5 separate regions of the Homo sapiens genome follow, and all the other regions are linked to region 4. The links are contacts of gene promoters, found by promoter capture Hi-C in blood cells and fetal thymus (Javierre and others, 2016). All regions are on one chromosome and are shown on one strand. Each heading gives the region's core, a stretch centred on a gene start or on the middle of the fragment in contact. The rest is flanking DNA. Distances are from core to core; before and after follow the strand shown. Region 1 has its middle 8.0 kb from the start of LINC02155. Region 2 overlaps LINC02842 (long intergenic non-protein coding RNA 2842). Region 3 overlaps LINC02842 (long intergenic non-protein coding RNA 2842). Region 4 holds the start of GGH (gamma-glutamyl hydrolase). Region 5 overlaps LINC02842 (long intergenic non-protein coding RNA 2842).

What was found. Contacts are between HindIII fragments. The CHiCAGO score rates a contact against its expected background, and 5 or more counts as called.
Region 1: a contact is called between a fragment that was not itself captured here and the fragment with the promoter of GGH in region 4, in 1 of 17 cell types (monocytes). The highest score is 5.7, in monocytes.
Region 2: a fragment that was not itself captured here is called in contact with the fragment with the promoter of GGH in region 4 in 1 of 17 cell types (total B cells); the score reaches 7.5 in total B cells.
Region 3: a fragment that was not itself captured here is called in contact with the fragment with the promoter of GGH in region 4 in 1 of 17 cell types (total B cells); the score reaches 8.1 in total B cells.
Region 5: a contact is called between a fragment that was not itself captured here and the fragment with the promoter of GGH in region 4, in 1 of 17 cell types (total B cells). The highest score is 8.2, in total B cells.

The regions. Positions count from the first base shown.
Region 1 is chr8:61,879,661-61,884,035 of GRCh38, forward strand. No RefSeq gene overlaps it. Among named protein-coding and RNA genes, the nearest start is that of LINC02155, 8.0 kb to the right of the region's middle. The HindIII fragment of the contact is 171 bases long and covers 1,246-1,416 here.
Region 2 is chr8:61,834,630-61,839,015 of GRCh38, forward strand. It overlaps LINC02842 (long intergenic non-protein coding RNA 2842), which reads left to right. Exons shown (of 5, transcript NR_187554.1): 3 at 244-367. Among named protein-coding and RNA genes, the nearest start is that of LINC02842, 52 kb to the left of the region's middle. The HindIII fragment of the contact is 6,801 bases long and covers 1-4,386 here.
Region 3 is chr8:61,809,881-61,814,036 of GRCh38, forward strand. The region is part of intron 1 of LINC02842 (long intergenic non-protein coding RNA 2842); the gene reads left to right. LOC105375871 (a long non-coding RNA gene) reads right to left here. Exons shown (of 3, transcript XR_928972.4): 3 at 600-639. Among named protein-coding and RNA genes, the nearest start is that of LINC02842, 27 kb to the left of the region's middle. The HindIII fragment of the contact is 3,711 bases long and covers 792-4,156 here.
Region 4 is chr8:63,035,928-63,040,339 of GRCh38, forward strand. It overlaps GGH (gamma-glutamyl hydrolase), which reads right to left and starts at 2,879. Exons shown (of 9, transcript NM_003878.3): 1 at 2,733-2,879. The coding sequence starts at 2,841. RefSeq lists a silencer at 2,913-3,272. The HindIII fragment of the contact is 10,760 bases long and covers 1-4,412 here.
Region 5 is chr8:61,794,186-61,798,616 of GRCh38, forward strand. The region is part of intron 1 of LINC02842 (long intergenic non-protein coding RNA 2842); the gene reads left to right. Among named protein-coding and RNA genes, the nearest start is that of LINC02842, 11 kb to the left of the region's middle. The HindIII fragment of the contact is 3,736 bases long and covers 1-3,349 here.

The sequences.
Region 1 (4,375 bases), core at 81-2,580, 1.2 Mb before region 4:
ATTTTTGTTTAATATGTTACTGAGAAAGAAGCTCAAGTGATAGAAATAACACAGGACAGGAAGTAAGACAGTTCTCGTCTGAAGTTCTTCTCTGACAGCCCACAAACTAGTTAATATGTAAGTTTGAAAATATAATTTCTGTATTTTATTGCAAATTTCAAATAGATATTTATTTCCAGCTTTATTGAGGTATAATTGACAAATAAAATTATATAAATTTCAGTTGTACAACATGAAGTTTTAATATGTATATCATCATGAAATGATTACAGAAATCAAAATAATAAATATATTCTTCAGCTCACATAGTTATAATTTCCTATTTGTGGTGAGAACATGTAAGAACTATTATATTAGCAAATTTCAAGAATGTAATACAATATTATTAACTATAGTCTTATTGATCTGGTAGATCAAGAACTTTGCACCTTTTAAGCCCCAGCTCCTGGTAATCACCATTTTAATGTCAACTTTTGTGAGTTTAACTTCTTAAGATGCCACATGTAAATGAGGTCATGAAGTTGAAGGAAATAAAAATATTTCATGCCAAAATATCCTTCTTCAGCATATTTTGAGATGGCTATTCAGAGGGCTTGCAAATGGAATTAGCCCTGAAATAAGTCTTTTGTGGGGCATACATTTTTTAGGAAGAAGTCCTCCCCTATGAAAGTAAATTAAAAAATAGGGAAACTGACTATTACACCAGATGCACAGATATCAATGTATGGACACAGGAAGCATGAAAAACAAGAAAATATGACACCTCCAAAGGAATACAATAATTTTCCAGCAATAAATCTTAATCACAAAGAAATTTTCAAAATTCAAGATAAAGAATTCAAAATACTGATTTAAAAAAAGCTCTGTCAGGCATGGTGGCTCATTCCTGTAATCTCAGCACTTTGGGAGTCCGAGGTGGGCAGATCAACTGAGGTCAGGAGCTTGAGACCAGCTGGGCCAACATGGTGAAACCCCGATTCTACTAATAATACAAAAAATAGCTGGGCGTTTGAGATTTTTTTAGCCATTATTTCTTTAAAAAAGATTTCTGCTCCTTTCTTGGAATTTCCAAATACATGCATTGGTTCATTTGATGGTATCCCACAAACCACATAGGGTTTTATTTCCACACTCTTCGATTTTTTTTTTTCATTTGAGTGGATTATTTCAAGTAACCTGTCTTTGAGTTCATAGATTTTTTTCTTTTGCTTGATTGGGTAAAGAGCTAGTATTGAGATGTTTGAAAGCTTCCTTTGAAGCTCTCTGCTCCATTTTGGATTCTATTCATTGTAGTCGTCAGATCCAGAATTACTGTTCGTATCTTTTTTATTTGTATGTATTAGTTGAATGTCTCATTTGTTCGTGTATTGTTTTGGTGATAACACTGAGTTGTCTGTGTTCTCTTGGAGCTTGCTAAGCTTCCTTAAAGCCATTATTTTGAATTATTTGTCAGGTAATTTGTAGATGTATATTTCTTTGGGGTCAGTTATTAAAACATTATTGCATTTCTTTGGTGGTGTCATGTGAAATTTTGTTGTTGTTGTTGTTTCTTGAAATCTTGAGTTGCCTTCTTTGCATTTCAAGAAACAATCACTTCATTCAGTTTTTACTGACTGGCTTTGAGAGTGAAAAATCTTCATCAGTCATCCCAGTTAGGCATTGTGGGGGTCTCTCAGATCTTTTCTGTGGATGCCCCACTCCATTTTTCTTTATCCCTTTTGGGGAGAAAGTATTGGTATCATATGCCTTATCTCCATCCCACAAAGCCATTTTTTTTTTTTTTTTTCCCCTGGGGAAGTGCCCTGAAGAGTTCAAAGTCAGATGCTTTTCCCGAGTTAAGTAGAGTTTGATCTGGGTGTCTGTGTATTGTGTATGATTTTTGTAGACTCACATGTACTTTCTTCAGGGGAGCACAGAAGGTGGTGCTTATGAAAAGGAGGGGCACGTAGAGTGCTAGGGACACATGTGGACCACCTAGGGGTCTGCAGTTAACCTGCGTTATGAGGTTGGTGGTCTGGACTCTTGGTGGAGTTTGCGAAGTGGTTTGTAAAAATCACAACACTTTATTGAGTTCTGTGCTCCATTGCTCTGAGTGCCTATTCAGTTTTTCTTCTCCTAGCTGCCTGCAAACTATTGAGTAATCCCAATTCTCTCAGTTTTCTGGGTGTGATAAGACAGATGTTGGCCTCCTCGGTAGTGTCCCAAATGGCTAGGGAGACAGGGTGCTCATTATACTCTCACTTTCCCCTGTGAGATAAATTAAAGGCAAAGAGGGTCTCCTGGCACAGCACTGAGCTGTGCTGCTTTGGTGGAGGGGTGATGAGGATATAGTGAAACTGTTCTCTTACCCTCTTCAATGTGTCTATTCATAGATTAGAATAGACACCTATAGGGTGCTGGCATCTCTCTACTGGCCTCCTATTCTCCCTCAAAAATACTCTCATCCTTGTATAGTTGTCGAAATTGATGTTTGTTGGGAAGATAAGAGCTGCAAACTTCTATTTTGCCATCTTGCCAGTTATTCCACTAGGTTTTTATTTTAGGAATTATTAAAATTTACACTATAAAATACTTAAGGATATAATTTTGTTCATTCATTAATTATTTACTCAGGCTTGGCTGATTGTAAAATATTGGGAACATACCAAGGAAAAAGACAAACACCATGACCTCTGGAAGTTTAATTTCTAGTGAAGGAGACAAAACTGAACAAAAAAAGAGTGTTATTATTTGTGATAGATATACTGTGATGAAAAAAATAAAACAATGTAAGGGGAGGGAAACCCTTGTGTAATTCTTGTCAGGGGAGACCTCCTTCAGGAAAGGAAATTTGCTAGAGAAAGACAGTAAGATAATGAGGGCGAAGAGTATTTCAGGCAAAGGGGAAAAATTCTGGAAGTAATTTCTATCTTGAAAGAACATAATAATTTAACAGAACTCAGAAATGTCTGTGAACTACATAAATAAATGCCATTCAACCACAATCATTGTATCACCACCTCAACTTCCCCATAGACCAGCACCTTCTCTCATGCCATGAGAGGAAATGTTACTAAGAGGAAGTATGAATGCAATGCAACAGAGTTCTAAATCTAACATAGTTAAAATATTGGACTCTTAGAAATTTTACAAAAGCACATGGACCTTCCCAACACCTTGAAAAGGGCCTGTGCAGTGTGGTGACCTGAAGCTTAAGCTTCATTTATTTTATGGTGAATCTTCTTTTAATCAAAGGTCACAGTTTGTTCTTTTCAACTTTTTCCCAGGTAAGGAAAAAATCAGCATTTAAGTACATGGTGTAAATTAAAGGATTTTAATCCTAACAATGGGAATTCTGACCAAGAATCTCCTAATACACCAAGAGAGAGCCAGTGGGAAAAAAATGACAAATTCTATTTTGAACATGTTCATTTCCGGCTGTCTTATGAGATACCTAAATAAGGATGCCCAACTCTAGAGCTCAGGGAAGAGCTGAGCTTAGAGATGCATGCTTTGGAGTCAACAACCTATAGACAGCATTCAACACCAAATGCTGGATAAAATCACTTTTGGGCTTGAGTGTAGTAAGAGAAGGGCACCCAGGACTGAATTCTGTGACACTCTGACATTAAGTCGTTTATTTGTCTAAGATAGGAGCTACCGTGTTGCTTTTCTGTGCTCACAGAAATGCAATAAAAAGAAACAAAAAAAGATAACTTATGAAGACGGACCATGATCATAGAAGCAATGGCCTTGGACTCGGTAACAGAATGGAATCCATCAGAAAAGTCAGGGAGCTGGCCTGAAACAAGGACAAAGGAAATTCATCCATTATAAAAGGAGGGAAAGTGGAGTATGTAGGTATATAGTGTCTAATATAGTGTACATAGGGTATAGTGAAGTGAAGGGAAGTATCAAAATATCAGAAACTCATTCTATTTCTACTAATTGCAATTCCCTTTAGGCACCTGCATATTGCTCCACATAACTATTAAAATTCTGATACCTTTGTCTTTATCTATGGATCTATCAGTGTATCAGTCTATTTATTTCTGGTTTCCATAGTTGAATATAGAAATTCTTTGAAGGCAAGAGTTATCCATTACTGAGCATTCCTCCAAACATACGTACACATGTTTTTCAGTGCTTAGCACATTTTACAGAAATGTAGGGGATAATAATTTCCATTATTTGATCAATAAAAATAAATACATGTTTGGTTATCTACTAGAAGACATGCTCTATGAAGGCAGGAGCTTTGAGTGCTCTGTTGACTGCTCTATCTCCAGCATGAAGAAGAGAGCCCAGCCCATTAAATATTAGCTGTGTGTGTATACTCTTCAATCTGAAGACTGGATATGTGGACTTTTAAGACTATTGTATACCAGGTCCACCT
Region 2 (4,386 bases), core at 1,421-3,920, 1.2 Mb before region 4:
GTACTCTTGTACCAATAAGCTAGTTTCAGCCAATGAAAGGTGGCCAACTGTTCCAACCAGGTTCAAATAAGGCAAACACTGAGCTGTAACCAATCCAGTTGTTTTTGTACCTCACTTCTGCTTTCTGTACATCACTTTCCTTTTCCTAGTCATAAATCCCCTCCAAGCATGTGGCAGCACAGAGTCTCTCTGAACCTATTCTGATTCTGGTGGCTGCTCAATTTGCAAATCATTCCCCAACAGATGGTATCAGAAGTGGGACCTGCAGTGGGGCATCTAGCAACCCCCAGGAGCATTGAGTGACCAGGCTTGGGACCCACCGGGCGCAGGGTGTCCATTGTTCTCTCGAAGCAACTGAGAATTGTGGGTAAGTTTTCTCTTAGATTCTGAAGCTCCATGGAGTTCTGTTTTGAGTTCTTCCTTTATAGGCATCCTTGGGCATAGACATGGCTATTTGGTATCCAGGATGACTGGGGAAGACAGGAAGGGTACCTGTAGTCATAGTTTCAAAATTATTTTCAGTAATTCATAATCTTAAAGTCATCTTATGTTAAATTAAGTAATAGATAATCATAAAATGGCTGAGTCATTTCTAAATAAGTTAAAATACTGAAACATTAATTATTAAACATAAATACAGGTTAACATATGTTGTTATCTTATTTTCACATGATATAGAACAGCTACATATGTTTAGATCTGTTAAACAAAAAAGTGAGAAGCATAGCTTTCAAAAAATTATAAAGTGGTTTTCATCTTCAAATAGTTTTATAAAATAATTCAAAATTACTTCCTAGGGTTTTCACAAGCAATTAGGGTTACTAAGAGTTAAAATTGTAGTTAATATATGTAATTAAAACTACTAGATATAAAAGAAACAATTCTGTATACAGAGTGTATAAAAATAGCAAGATATATTTTTGGTAAGAAAAGTTATAAAAGCATAAAAAATGTGCATTTGTCAAGAACATATAATTTTGTCCAGTTTAGAAGTTACTTAAAAGTCATTTCAAATTAAAAGAATAAAAAATATGTAGGTAAACTAAATAAATATAAAAAGTTGGAAATTATCTCAACTATGATCATTTTAAAATAGTTTCCACAGTTAATTCCTTAACTTTGATGCATTTCTAGTCTATTGTTGAAGGACTCAAATGTATTTTGTATTTCCTTCAATGAATTTTCTAGCTGTAGAATTTCTATTTGGTTCCTTTAAAAAATCTATCTTCTTGGTAAATTTCCTATTAATATCTTGAATTATTATTCTGATTTCTTTGTGTTGTTTTTCAGAATTCTCTTGAACCTCATTGGGCTTCTTTAAACTCAATATTTTGAATTCTTTAGCTAGGATTCTGAAAATTTCTTTTTTATTAAGGTTTATTGCTAGAAAATTATTGTGTTTCTTTGGAGGTGTCATACTTCCTTGTTTCCTGTTTCATGTGTCCTTATGTTGACATTTGCACATCTGATAAGACTCTTTCCTGGAGATGTATCTCGGTGTTAGTTGGGTGGCATACTTCCCTTTGATTCTGGGTACATGCAGTAGTGTAGTCTCTGATTTCTTTGGCTGTAAACAGTGTTAGTGGTACCTGTGATTTCCTCAGTGGGCTGGGTGGCAGTTTTAGTGAAGGCTGTGGTAAAGCTGTGCTGGGTACTGTGATGCCAGTGGGCCAGTCTGCAGGCCAGTGGTGGCAGTGGTGGGCTGGGTGTGCCTATCTTTGTGTCCCAGGGCAGTGTATTCTGGCACCTGTGTTGATAGCTATCAGCAGGCTAATTCTTGGGCTTCAAGGTGGCTTGCTTGGATTCTGGCAGTGGCAGCAGTAGACTGAGCAGGGGGGCACGTTCTTAGGCCCTCAGAAGTCAGTGTGGCATGGGCAATGTCTGCAGCAGTGGTGAGATGATTCTCTGGATCTGCAGCAGTGTGCACTGATGTTGGTGGTGACTGAGATGGGCTGAGTGGCCCAGTCTGCAAGTTCGCAGGTGGTACTGGCGGGTAGGTGCCAGCTGTGTTGGTAGCGACTGGGAGTTTAGGAGCAACAACCTCAGGCCCCTGGGAAGAGTGATCAGGTGCCCAAGTTGGCGGCTTGAGCAATCCCCAGGACCCTGGGCTGTGTGCTCTGTCTAGGGAGGGTGGGGGGCAAGGCTGGGCTGGGCTGGGCAGGCTTGTGCTGAGGCCCTCAATGATGAGAGTCGGCACTGGTCATGGGGGCTGGGGATGGTGCAGTCCTCAGCCAGACAGAGTACTTGTGTGAGGGGTTGTGGCAGCTGCACTTAAGCCCTGCCACTGGAGAAGGTGGAGCTGTCCTCAGTGAGCACAGCCCAGTCCAGCAGGTGGAAAATGCACATCCCGCTCACACTCCGGTCTAGGCAGGGTTTGCTCTCCAGCTCCAGCAGCGGTATCCTGCGCCTAGCTCACACTCCCACTCCAGCTACAGGAGCCCTCACCCAACTGGCGACCAAGCCCTCAATTTTGCTGTAGGAGGTTATTTCTTGTCATTAAGAGTTTTAAAGCCAAACATAGTTTAAAAACGGGAAGCAGAGGCTGCTGTGTCATTCATTTGTTCTGTAAAAAGAACCCAGTGGGAGCCCAGCTACTATGGCATCTAAAAGTAAAAGCTCTTGGCATCCTGAGCTGTGGCCAAATTCTGCCATCCCTTTGGCTTTTAAGCCATGGAAATTGATTTTAGATCCTCAGGGTTAGAATTACTCACCCCATTCACAATATTATAATTCTTTAAAGAATGTTTTGTGTGGTTGCACTAGAGTTTGCAATGTACATTTATAACAAAGTACACTTAATACTAAAATGCTTCATAGGTAGTGCTGATATCTATCAGAGTTTTCCCAATTCATCTCTTCCTTATAAAATTGCTGTCATTAATTACACATATTCATATAATATAATCATGCAATATGTTGTTTTTGTCAGCTTAAAAGAAAGAAGCCTAAGCATAAAATGTAATTTGAAGAGTATACTTGAACCAAAGTGAGGACAGCTGCCTGGGACCACTTCCAAGTGGCCTTGGGGAGTGCTCTGTCACCTTTGTTACAAGCAGGCTTTTAAATGCAAAAGGGAACAAGTAATGGGCTGATACAAAGTTGTTTGACAGGAAGTCTCATAAGAGAATTTACTTTTACCTCTACATATTATTTATCTTTTCTTGATGGTTTCTTTACATAGACTGAGTTTCTGAATATATCATTTTATGTTTCCCTGAACAAATTTTTATAGAGATATTTTTTAAAAGCAGATTTAGGTTCAGAGCAAAATCAGACAGCAAGGACAGAGAATTCCCATATACCCTTCACTGCCACACATACATAGCCTCCCCACTACCAATATCCTGGTCCAAAGTGGTATATTTGTTACTGTCAATAAACTTTTGTTGACTTTCACTGGTCAATATCACCAAAAGTTCACAGTTGACATTAAAGATCATTCTGGGGTTGTACATTTTATGGGTTCTGACAAATCTGTAATGACATGTATCCATTATTATAGTGTCATGCAGAATAGTTTCACTCCTCTAAATATCCTGTCTTCTGCCTATTATCTCTCCCTTTCCCCTAGTACCTTGCAATCACTTATATTTTTACTGTTGCCACAGTTTTGCCTTTTCCAGAATGTCATACAGTTGAGACCATACAGTATGTAGCATTTTAAGATTGATTTCTTTCACTTAGTAATATGCATTTCCATTTCTTCTATGTCTGTTCATGGTTTGATGCTCATTTCTTTTTAGCACTAAATAATATTTCATTGTCTCAATGTACCAGAGTTAACTCATTCATTCCCCTGCTAAAAGACATTGTAGGAGCCAAAGAAAACTTCCCCTCCACTCTCTGAAGGTTCACTGAAAAGTCAACTCACAAAAGGAGATTATTAGGAAAAATGGAATCAAATTTATTAATATGCACATAAAGGAGAACCATAGAGTGATTACCTCAAGCCCCAGTGCGGTTCAGAAACTTATATACCATCTTGAGGTTACTGAAAGAATGGGGGCTTGGATTATCGTGAAACAGATTATGGTGGCAAAATAGGTTATGGGAGGGGGAGAAGAGAAGGCCTGGCTAGCAAAGGTGGACTCGTTATGTAAATACACTCTCACAGATGGCAGTCCTCAGAAAGAATAAATGGTAAATGTTTCTTTCAGTTGCTTAAAGGTGTCAGACTCTCAGTTTATCATTCCTAGATCCAGACAAGGAAAGGCCTCAGAAAAAGCCAGGCTGCATCAATGCAGATCTCTACAAAGCAAATCTCCCCTACAAAAGACAACTTTTCATTTCTTCTTGCACCTTCAGCCTTTCTTAATATCTATCTTCAAGGAAATATATTTTAGGGTGAAATATTTGAATTTTCTTCAACATCTGGGTTGCTTCCCA
Region 3 (4,156 bases), core at 1,397-3,896, 1.2 Mb before region 4:
AAGTGGTTCCCACAAAACAATTCAGATTGTGCTCCATAGCCCTGAAAAGTCTTCCTCAGATTTACCCTCTATCAAAAGCAGAAGCTGAATTTGAAAATATCTGTTTCATTCTTTATGTATGTTTCTGTGCTAACTATATAATTTACTGGAGGTGAATTATTTTATTTTGGAACGCATTTTTTCTTTCTTTCTTGTTTTGAATGAAACAAAATGTCATTTCTCAAACTGCCATGTTTTTCCTTTGGGATTTTTAGATTCCACGCTTACTTGCTGTGGACACTAGGGGTCAGCAAAGAATAGATGTGTTTTCCATTAGCGCTCAAACTTAAGCTGCTGCTGTCTTACGCTGCGTAAAGATTCAAAAAAGGCCGGCGCGGTGGCTCACGCCTGTAATCCCAGCACTTTGAGAGGCCGAAGAGGGCGTCATCATCTGAGGTCCGGAGTTTGAGACCAATTTGGCCAACATGGTGAAACCCCATCTCTACACACAAAAATTAGCTGGGCGTGGTGGCGTGCGCCTGTAATCTCAGCTACTCCGGAGGCTGAGGCAGGAGAATAGCTTGAACCTGGGAGGCAGAGGTTGCAGTGAGCCGAGGTCGCGCCATTGCTCCCCAGCCTGGGTGACAAAAGTGAAACTCCCTGTCAAAAAAAAAGAAAAGTTCAAAAACAAGCCTTGGTATTATGCACCATAGATATTTAGATATCTGTTTTTGATGGAGTCTTTTGAATGATCATTATTATTGCTTTAACCTACATTCACTATTTGTTGACAATGAAACATCTTTCCTAAAAGCTTAAAAATTAAGGTTTTAAACAGCATACTTTTAATACTTATTCCAAAGATTTTCCTGATAATATCACACAATACAAATAATCATTTGAGGAAAGTTTAAATATAACATTCACAATCAAATGAATGATAATTAGTAATCTGCATTCTTTTAGCCTAAATAGGCAATGCACCTTTTCTTATGCTTACTGTCCCAGTTCCTTTCTCTTCCCTTCCTCTTTTTTCATATTACTTAATAATAAAAATTATAAGTACAAGAATAGCAATGATGACTTCCTACAGTCTCAGAAAACTCTTGAAAATCAAATAAAAATAAATTATAACAAGGTAGAATTAACAAAATTCTTGCTGGATTTTAGTATCCAGGTTGTGACACACTTATAAGGATGTATTTTATGAATTGCACTTTAATAAGTTCGGCTTCCTTACTTATTCCAGTGTGCCATATGTACAACCACACACACACATACAGGAATAAATAAACACTGTGTTAAATTTTTCATTGTTCCATTGCTAGCCAAGGTGAGTTAATCCACTGCCAGTTAAATTAACTACTTGGAAATAGCAGCAGGAAGAATATTAAAAGGAAGTAAAAGCACAAAGAAGAACAACTTTTAAACAATGAAACTAAAGTTGAAACTATTCCAAAGAACATATGGGGAGGTTTCATATTCCTGTGACCCCCTATAACCAATGAGGTTAACATGGGTCAAGTTCAGATGAAAAGAGTTTCTCTGCAGATAAAATGTACTTCTTACCTTATATGAAAATAACTTCCAGACTGAATAAAAAAATAAAAGCATCTTTTTCCCTTTAAAAAGTATGTATATTTTTTCTTCATTCAATTTTATTAGTTCATACATTTCTAGAGAGCAATCACTAAGTTGTTTTCTGTTTTGTCTAACATGACACTCCAAGCATATGGATCCTTAAGAAGACTGCACTCCTCTAAAAGAGAGGATTAATAAAGGAAATATTCTTGAATTTCCAATTATATCTGTTGCCCAGTGTAGTCAATCATTTTCAAATTCCAGGGTCTTTACCTGAAGAATCATTTGATAAAGAAGTGTCAAGTCACAGTGTGGAGGGAAGATGTCCTAATGAGGTTCCTGGCGTTGAGACACTCTGAGCCCAGGAGAGTTCTCCCTGTCAGTCATCTCCAGCTTGCTCTGACCCGGCATTTTGTGGACTGCAGCCCAGCTCACCCTTTGTGGAGAGTCTGTAAGCTCTCCCTGCCAGACAGCTCAGATCAATTGACCTTTAATAGTTTTTATTGTTTACGCTGCCCTTTAAAGTATCCATCATCTTTTTTTTAAACCTCTAGTCTAAAGATCTTTCCAGACCTAGACAAATAGAATGCTTCTTTGTCTAGGAAAATGAAGATTCTTCTCAGGGTTTAGAGGTGGGGATAAAAGTCCTGGGGTGGAGAAGATCCTGGGGCTACGAACAGGGCACACATTTGTTCCTCTTTCTTTTTTCTTTCTTTCCCTTTTTTTTTTTTTGAGACAGGGTTTCACTTTGTCACCCAGGCTGGAGTGCAGCGGTGTGATTTTGGCTCACTCCAACCTCTACCTCCCTAGCTCAAGCAATCCTCCCACTTCAGCCTCCCGAATTAGCAGGCCACCATGCCTGGCTAATTTTGTTTATTTTGTTGTAGAGATAAAGTCTCACTATATTACCCAGGCTGGTTTTGAACTCCTGGGCTCAAGCAATCCTCCCACCTCGGCCTCCCACGTTTTGAAATTACAGGTGTGAGCCACTGCACCCAGCCTTCCACCCTCTTTCTGATGCTGCTGATAGGGAAGAAAAAACTCTCCATATTTTTGCTTTGGGACACACCTCTGTCTTTATTTTTTATCCTAATGGCAAGCTCATAATTCTAAACTGAAGGAAAAAGATGTGTGTGTGTGTGTGTGTGTGCATGTGTGTGTGTGTGTACATGCCTGCCAAGAACACATTTTTTAGCACATTCTCCAACCATACTCATCATCCCCCCTCAATATGATAACAAGTGAGGAGCTTTTCTTTTACTCTAGTCCCTCAGCAGTTCCTTTACCATGACCTCTGAGTCTTGAGGGTCATGCTCTTCTCTCTAAATCCCTGGGGGCCTATGGCCACTGAGCTGCAGTAAAGAAGAACTCCAGCTTACAGGGAGGCAGAAATCAGAACAAAGTGCTACTTAGAATTTTTCTTCATTGCACCTTCCATAGTTAATCTTTAGGAACCTAAAACACATCAAGTGGTAATGTTCACCTCAGTGCTTTCTTTATTTTATTTTAGTTTTTAAATTTTTGAGACAGATCTCACTCTGTCCCCCAGGCTGGGGTGCAGTGTCACAATCTCGGCTCACTGCAACCTCAAAGTGCTGGGATTACAGGCGTGAGCCATTGTGCCCTGCCAGTGCTGTCTTTAATATAAGTAAATATATGACAAGGGGGAATAGCAAGTATCATAAATTCTGGTCTCATTTCTGGTCTTAAACCTGAGCTTCCCTCAGAGAAGAATGAACTGGCCGGGCACAGTGGCTCAAGCCTGTAATTCCAGCACTTTGGGAGGCCGAGGCAGGTGGCTCACCTGAGGTCAGGAGTTCGAGACCAGCCTGCCCAACATGGCGAAACCCAGTCTCTACTAAACATACAAAAAATTAGCTGGGTGTGGCAGTGGGCGCCTGTAATCCCAGCTACTCCGGAGGCTGAGGCAGGAGAATTGCTTGAATCTGGGAGGAGGAGGTTGCAGTGAGCTGAGATGTGCCACTGCACTCCAGCCTGGGCGACAAGAGTGAAACTCCGTCTCAAAAAAAAGAATGAACTAACCCTTCCTTCCTCCCTCCTTCCCTTCTTCCCTCCTTCCCTCCTTTCCTTCCTCTTTCCCTCCTTCCTTCCCTCCCTCCCTCCTTTCCTTCCTTCCTTCCTTCCTTCCTTCCTTCCTTCCTTCTTTTTCTTTCTTTCTTTCTCTCTCTCTTTCTTTCTTTCTTTCTTTCTTTTTCTTTCTTCCTTTCTTCCTTCCTTTCTTTCTTTCTCTTCCTTCCTTCCTTCCTTCCTTCCTTCCTTCCTTCCTTCCTTCCTTTCTTTCTTTCTTTCTTTCTTTCTTTCTTTCTTTCTTTCTTTCTTTCTTTCTTTCTTTCTCTTTCTTTCTTCTTCTTGATGTCTTTGCAAAGTACACCTAATAGCACTCAGTGCATAGGTCTGAGTGTCCCAGTGTATGAATGTCTAACACATTATATCTTCTACTCATTTCATTCTGAGGGCATCCTTCATTGAAAATCTCTTTCCTCCTGTCCACTCTCCCAAATTCCCTTCTCCACTGAGCACATTTTTCATTCTGCCCCTTAGCTTAATCCTCCCTCCCCCAATTACTCCCTTTGTA
Region 4 (4,412 bases), core at 1,629-4,128:
AGCAGGGGAGGCTGATCTTACTTTCAAGTAGATCTATCTCTCACCTCATTAGGGAGGCCAAATAAGCCCCCAAAGAAGGCTTACAATAGCACTTGCAGCCTTCACACAACTGTAGACCTAGAATCCATCTAAAGAATATAGATCCTTAAATTTACAAGGCTGTCACTCCTTTCCCACACATACTCACAGACACACTGATTCCCTGACAACGAAGCAAAGGAGTGAAAACATCTTCCATCCACACCTCTCCAACATTACCTTAGCCCAAGCTATCAATATCTACCCTCTCCCCACCACACTATCATAATAGACTCTTAGAAGGTCTTGTTATATCTTTTCTTAAGAAACCCCCCCAAGCTCCAAGCAGCTCCCCATGTAGAAGCAAATCGGATCATATCACCATTCCTATTCCTACAGTCATTCAATATATACTGTTGAATCATACCTCATGCCAGGCAACAAACTAGCTGCTGGGGACACATGACTATGAGTGAACCAAACAAAAGCCCCTGCCCTGTGTGCATTAATTCGAGGGTGTAGCAGGGAGGGGAAAGAGGACAAACAATAAACAAGACAAAAAGGCATAATATATAGAGTGATGGCTGGTCGTAAGCACTAAGGAGAGAAAGACGGTGGGGAAGGAGAGCCCATCTATGTAGGAAAGGACAGTCTCTTCAACACGGTGGCCAGGCAAGTCCTCCCTGAGAAGGTAAAACATGACATTTGAGCCAGGACTTCAGAGAGGTGACAGAGTAAACCACATTCATATATCTGGGAAAAGAGCAATCCAGGACAAAGGAATAGCAAGTGCAAAGGCCAGGAGTCAGATTTGTGCCTGTCACGTTGCAAGGAATCCATATTATTAGAGCCAGGTGAGTGAAAGCAGAAAGCAATAGGAAAGGACATCAGGTAGCGATAGATCAGCAAGCAGGTGTCACCACTTTGTTTAACTACCTCAGTGGGTCCCTAAACTTTAATAAACTCTGTAAGACCCGTATGCTCTGCCCCACCCATCTCTCTGGCCTCCTTTTACCAGTGAAACCCAGCCCCAGCAGAGTATAGCAACCAGTATACATCAAAACACGTCTGTCGGGTGAGTACCTGTGCCTACTCCTATTCAGCACTTCAGCATTTGGAACACTTTCAGTGTCTCTGTAGGCCACCTGATAGGAAGAGCTGTTGTCTGTATTACTCACTTTTGTATTCCCAGCTTCTTACAATTGGCATTCATCAGGTATTCAGATTAACATGTCAAACGCCAAAATTTGTTCAGTAAAACTTTTTCTCCTTACTGGTAGGTAAGATCATCTTCACTAAGGAATAACAAAGTTTGGCTAGGGAACGAAGAACTAGGAGTGTCATAGGAAATGGAGTGGTACAGGGTACATGGGGTGAGGTACCACAAAGGAGACATGGGGCATCATGGGAGCACAAGGGTACCAGAAAGAGAAGTACATCAGAGTGAGTTCCACCAACATCTCCCCTTCCCCTGGGCCCACGCATATTCACTTTTCCCATCCCTGGGAAAAGAGCTCAAGCTGTTCTCCCTGTCCCTCAAAATATGACCAAAATTCCACCAATAATTTAAGGCCATCTCACAACTTTTGTGGCTTGTCATCTTTCAATCCTTTGCACTTCCCAGAGCAAGATTGTGTACATAGTCGGTACTCAGTTAACGATGTTGTGCTGATCTCAGTGACCAAAAGCAAAGTCCCTTTTTTAAATATTTGACGCAGGGCTACCCCTGATTCTAGGAAAGGGGAAGAATCCCCTCTGCTTTTTTTTCTCTTCTCTGGACACACAATATGCAACCTGTTACATTAATTACAGCTTGAGTTAATTCGTGGAGAATCAAATCACCATGTTAAACAGCTATGAAATAAGTTCCAAATATTAGTAAGCAACCCATTTGAAAACTGGGCACTACCTATATGAAAAAACATTCATCTACTTTCTGTTTAGTTACAGAATACAGTGATAATATTCATAGAAAAAAATAGTATGAAAGGCATAATCCTACAGCCAAAATAAAACTAATCTTAATGTCCACACACAAATTTCTTTGGGCAAATTTTAACCCCAGGATGATTTCTCCTAGGTAGCTTTCCTTGGGCCTGTCTCAAATGTGTGTTTTGGTAACACAGACTGATTTTACTACCTCTTTAAAACACAAATATGTTGGAAACGAAAAATTGTGGGCTGCATTTTAACACCAAATAGAACTCACATTAGGATATCAGCCACTGTTGTCCTCTGCTACTGAACATGACAAAATCCAAGTTATACCTTAATTTCTTGATTTTCTATTACAATGCACTGGTATTTTAAATACGCCATCAATACATTTTGATGAATGCAATGCATGTACAGAATTTGTAGATGTAAATGAGTAAAACTTCCCAACTATGTGCGAAAAGGAAATGTTTTATTTTAGTAGAAATTCCTAGCTGTGTACAAAAAAAGAAAATCCGCAGGATTCTTCATGGTGCACCCTCCTCCCTCCCACCTTTAAGAGTCATATGAGTCTAAAGGAATGAACGAGGTACCTCAACCAGGTACATTTCAGTACGACCTAAATGGTGCCCAGCCCGGGTTCCTCCTTGCACCAAAAGCGAAGCACATCTGGGGGTTTTTCCCGGCGGGACGCGCCAGCTGGAGCGCGGCGGCGGGAGGCGCCCAGCGCCAACACCCAGCTCCTCCCCGTCTGCTGCGGCCCCGCACAGCCTCCTTACCGATGATGGGCTTCTTGGCGGTGTCGCCGTGGGGTCTAGACAGCTCGAGGCTCGCCGCCCCGCAGAGTAGCAGGCCCAGCACGCACAGCAGGCAGCCCGGACTGGCCATGGCGCTCGCCGCCTCCCGCCGCCTTTCAAAAGCTCTGCGGGCGGGCGGGGGCTGCGGCAGGGACACCTCGCGGCAGCGCACTCGCGTGAGACTCGGGTGGGCGGTGCTCCGCAGCGTGGGCCTATGGGAAATGCAGTCCCGGCGCGCGCTAGGCGGCCGTGGGGCGGCGGTGGGAGGCTCTGGGAGTGCAGCCGGCGCTGCGCGCCCGCCCCATTGCTCTGTCCCCGGTCCGCGACCGCGACCGCGACCCCGACCCCCACGGGCCGCCTAAGCGGAGACTCTGGAAACGCCTGGGGCGGGTACCGGGTGGTCTCCGCGTCCTTCCCTTTCAACTGTTACGTCGATGTGGACTTCAGTCACCCGTACAAAGCTGGGCTGGCCAACCCAGGTCCTCGAGAGGGGAGGTTGGGTGTCCCCGGCCGAGTTTGGTAACCAGGCAGCGGGGAGGCTGGCAGGGGATTCTAGAAGGCGCCTGAGAACTGCGCGCCAACCGCACCGCCCCCTTGAAGGTCGGGGCCCTATCTCCGGGAATGGTGACAACGTTCGCTGTACGGACAGCCTGTGCCCCTGAATGTGAATGTCCACACTTGCTATTTGGGGGGTCGCGGCATCTGTAGGAAGTGAAGACGGGACGGCGATAGGAACACACGCACAGGCGCATCACTAGGGTCAGAACTGGGCCAACTCCGGGCGTCTACTTTGAAGCGGGCACGCCCAGGCCACGCCTGCAAACGGCGTCAGCTTCCTCTGATCAACCGCGGTCAGCGCCATCCACCGACCACCACTAAGCCTATCCACCGGGGCAGAAAAGATGACTGGTTCCTATTCGTTAAAACTGTTGATTGTTCCTAAATACATGGATATATAGCTTGTACTCAGTGAAAGTTTCCATCTATAAGGGCCAACTGAAATTCAGCATAAAACAAGAATATTTGAAAACCTGCTACATCAATGCTCAGTATTAAGGGTGAAAACGTAAATTGGACAGTCTTTTTCACAAGAGGTTTAAATTCAGTAAGGAAAAAAGGCAGAAAGCGTGACTCGTAGAGACAACAGGAACAATTTTAGCATGTTGCAAGAAGAGTAAATGCAGTGAATAGTCTGGTTTAACAAGAAAATAACGCTTCTGTAGAAGGGTGTGGTGAGAGGTAAGCAACAAAGGATGTGATGAAAGACATGAAAGGGCCGAGCTGGTTTTGAGCATGATTAAATAGACAAGTAGCCTTGTAAATATGAACTTGTGGTGCCAGAATAATTGACTATCCACATAGGAAAAATTTTTTACCCGGCGTTACACACAAAAATAAACTCGAGGTGAAGTGCATATGTAAATACGAAAGCAAAATATTATACTTTGATAAGAAAATATATAAATATATCTTCCTAACTTAGGCTGTTGGAAGAGTTTCATAAAACATTAAAAATAAAAATGTTAATTAAAAATTGACTATATAAGAAAATTAAAGTTAAAGCACAAACTTGGAAAATATAGTTATAAAATATAAAGTATTTCTAAAATATGCGAAGAAATAATAAGAAAAATGACACAATAGAAAAATGGAAAAAGAATG
Region 5 (4,431 bases), core at 232-2,731, 1.2 Mb before region 4:
GAATCCAGGAGGCGGAGCTTGCATTGAGCCGAGATGATGCCACTGCATTCCAGCCTGAGGGACAGAGCAAGACTCTGTCTCAAAAAAAAAAAAAAAAAAAAAAAAAAAAAAGGAGGGTTTCTAAACTTCTGAGGGTAAAGTAAAGCCTCTCCTTAAATATCTGTGGAAATATGAAACACATTGGGTCATCAAGATTCCTCAATTTTGTAGCTATGACTTTTTAATCAATAGTTTTTGAACTCTTTTTTTGAGGAGGTCTTTCCTGGGTAACTTGGAACTCTACTTCTTCTCTTTAGAACAAAAGTGGATAGTCCTCCACAGATATAATATATATGAGGACATTTTATATCAATGTAATTATACAATAGGTGGCCTTTTGTGACTGGTTTCTTTCACTTGGCATAGTCTTTTCAAGGTATATCCATGTTGCTGCATGTATCAGTATTGCATTCCTTTTGATGGTTGAATAATATTCCATTGCATGGATACATCCCATTTTGTTTATCCATTTATTGGTCGATGGAAATTTATATTGTTTCCACATTTTGGCTATTGTATTACTCCTATGAACATTCTTGTTCAAGTTTTTGTTTGACACTTGTTTTCATTTTTTTGTGTGCGTGCATATACCTAGTATTAGAATTTCTGGGTTATATAGTAAATTCCATAAATAACTTGTTGAACGTTTGCCAAACTGTCTTCCAAAATATCTACATCATTTTACATTTACACCGGCAATGTATGATGGTTGTAATTTCTCTGACTTCTTTCTAACACTTGTTCTTGTCTTTCTTTTTGATTTTAGCCATTCTAGTGTGTGTGAAGGGCTATCTCCTTGTGGTTTCGATTTGCATTTCCCTAATGACCAATGCTGTTGATCATCTTTTTGTGTGTTTATTATCTATATGTATATCTTTTTTTGGAAAAATGACTATGCAAATCCTTTGCCCATTTTTTAATTGGATATTTGTCTTTTTATTGCAAGTTGAGAGGATTCTTTGTATTTTCTGGAAACTACACTTTTATTGGAATTATGATTTGCAAATATTTTCTACCATTCTATATGTTGCATTTTACTTTGTTAATATGTCTATAAGTGCTATATCTTCTTGATGGACATTGACACTTTATAATTATAAAAAGTCCTTCTTTGTCTCTAGTGCAATTTTTTTAAATTAAATTTTGTTTTAAGTTTTGGGATATATGTACAAGATGTGCAGTTTTGTTACACAGGTAAATGTATGCAGTGGTGGTTTGCTGCACCTATCTACCCATCACCTAGGTATTAAGCCCAGCATGCATTAGCTGTTTATCTTGATGGTCTCCCTCTCCCCGGCCTCCCCAACAGGTCCCAGTGTGTGTTGTTCCCCTCCCTGTGTTCACGTGTTCTCATTGTTCAGCTCCCACTTATAAGTGAGAACATATGGTGTTTTGTTTTCTGTTCCTGTGTTAGTTTGCTGAGGATGATGGCTTACAGCTCCATCCACGCCCTTGCAAAGAATACGATCTCGTTCCTTTTTATAGCTCCATAGTATCTTGTGTTTCTTTTTGTATGATATTATTATAGCCACTCCAGCCTTCATTTGGTTAGATTAGATGATACATTTTTTTTTCAGAAATTTTGCTTTCAAACTATTTGTGTTTTTGGATCTAAAGTGTACCTCTTTTAGACAGTATGTAGTTGTATCATTTAAAAAAATTCAATCTTCCAATCTCTGCCTTTTAATTGGAGTGTTAATTCATTTACATTTGATATAATTACTGATATATTAGGATTTATGACAGCCATTTTGCTGTCTTTCCTATATCTTTTTCTTGCCCTTATATTTTTCTATTACTGTCTGTTTTGTGTTAAATAGATGCATTATTCTATTGCACTATTTTAATTTTCTTATTTTGCTAAATTTTTTGAGTTATTTCTTAGTGCCTAGTATTACAATTAGCGGATTAGCTTAAAAAATCTAATGCATAATAAAATCAGCTAAATTTCAATAATATACAAAAACTTTACTCCAGTCTAACTCTATTTCTTCCCTCCTCCTTTTTGCTATTTTCTCATGTAAATTATATCTTTATACATTGTAAGCCGACAAGCACACTTGTGTAATTATTGCTTTATGCAGTTGTCTTTTACATCAGATAGGGGAACAAAGGACTTAAAAACAAAAGATGCATTTACATTGTCTTTTATTTTTACCTATGTAGGTACTTACTGGAGCTATTGATTTCTTCATGTTGCTTCAGCTTACTGTATCATGTTCTTTCATTTTAGCCTGAAGAAATCCCTATGGCCTTTTTTTTTTTTTTTTCTAGGCCAGGTTTGCTAGCAACAAAATTCTTTTGGTTTTTGTTTATCTGGAAATGTCTTACATTTTCCTTTATTTTTGAAGGATAGTTTTGTTGAATATAGGATTCTTGGTTGAGGGTCTTTTTCTTTCAGCACTTTGAATATGTCATGTGACTGCCTTTTGGCTTCCAGTTGTTTTTGATTATAAGTCAAATGTTAACTTATTGGGGAATTTTTTTGTAGGTAATAAGTTGTTTTTTTCTCACTGCTTTCAAGATTTTTTTTCCTTTCCAGGTTTTGACAGTTTGACTATAGTGTGTGTACATGTGGATTTCTTTGAGATTATCCTCCTTGAAGTTTGTTGAGCTTCTTAGATTCATAGATAAAACTTTCATCAAATTTGTAAAGGGTGCCATTATTTCTTCAATTATTCTTTATGCTCCTTTCTTTCTCTCCTCTACTTTTGAGACTCACATTATACATGTGTTGGCATATTGAAAATATCCCATGTGTATCTGGGTACTCTTAATTTTTGTAAATTTCTCCAGACTTTATCTATCTTCAAGTTTACTTAATTCTTTCTTCTGCTAGCTTACATCGGCTTCTGAGACCCTCCTATGAATTTCACACATCACTTATTGTACTTTTCAAGTCTAGAATTTCTATTTGGCCCGTTTTTTAAAAAAATTCTATATCTTTATTGATAGTCTCAATTTGGTTATTCATATACTCCCTTTTATTTCTTTAGACACAGTTTCTTCTAGTTTTTGACTGTATTTGTAACAGCTGGTTTTAAGCATTTGTCTAGTAAGTCCAATATCTGGGCTTCCTTGCACAATATTTCTATTGAATACATTTTTCCCCATTGTGCATGGGCCATGCTGTGTTTTCGTATGCCTCATAATTCTTTGTTTAAAGCTGGACATTTAAAATAACATTATGTGGCAATTCTGAAAATCAGACTCCCCCCTTACTTACCATAATTTTTCATTGTTGCTTTTGTTTTGGTTTTCATTATTTACTGTTTAGTGACTTTTCTGGCCTAATTCAATAAAGTCTGTAAGCTTTATCATGTGCAACCACTGAAATCTCTCCTTGGTTAACTTAGTGGTCAGCCAATAATTGGGCAGAAGGTTGGTTAAGTGCTTTGAACTAATAAGTGTCCTATCCTTTCCAAAGGGTTTCTCAGTGAGTGTGTGTGTGTGCATGCATGTATGTGTGTATGTTAGAGTATGCCTCAAATGGAAGTTGACAGCTTTAACTTAGCCTTCACTCCTGTTTTCAAAGACCCTAAGGGTCAGTGAAAAGTGATATATTAAGTCAGTCTTAGGTCTTTCCTGAAAATACACATAGCCTCACACATGCATGTGACTTTCTAGATCTCCCTGAATATGTCAGAGCTTTTCCAAGAACTTTGTGGACATCTTGCCCCCAAGACCTCATTTATGTTTTTGTTTTTGTTGTTGTTGGCCCACCTTTTAAAAATCTTACTTTTTTTGTTTTAATTTTTAAATAACTTTTATGCAATAAAAACTGAAAAATATTCTTTTGTTGAGTGTTTTTCCTAGACAGAAGATACTCAGATAATGTGCTGATATTTTCATAGACACATTTACTCACATTTTGTATGTATAGATGATTAAAAAACTTATAAATATTTAGCCTTTTACTTGTCCTTCTCTACTGACAGGTCTTTGGAGACAGGAATTATATCTTGTTTACCATTCTGTGTACAATAAACTAGCACGTTGGTTGACACATGTTATTCAGTCAATAAATACATAGAGGCAAATTTTAGCAGAAGAATTTATTGAAGCAAATATTATGATTGATTTTCTTTTAAAGAAATGCCTAAACATCTTAATACTTTCATACTTGGTGATAACTGCAATGTGAGATAAAATGCTTTTGTCATTTGTGTAAAAAACCCATCTGAGTGGCTGTGTGCAGTGGCTCATGCCTATAATCCCAGCACTTTGGGAGGCCGAGGTGGTGGATCATTTGAGGTCAGGAGTTCAAAACCAGTCTAGCCAACATGGTGAAACCAGATCTCTACGAAACATACAAAAATTCCAGCTACTCAGGAAGCTGAGGCAGGAGAATTGCCTGAACCTGGGAGGCGGAGGTTTCAGTGAGCCGAGATT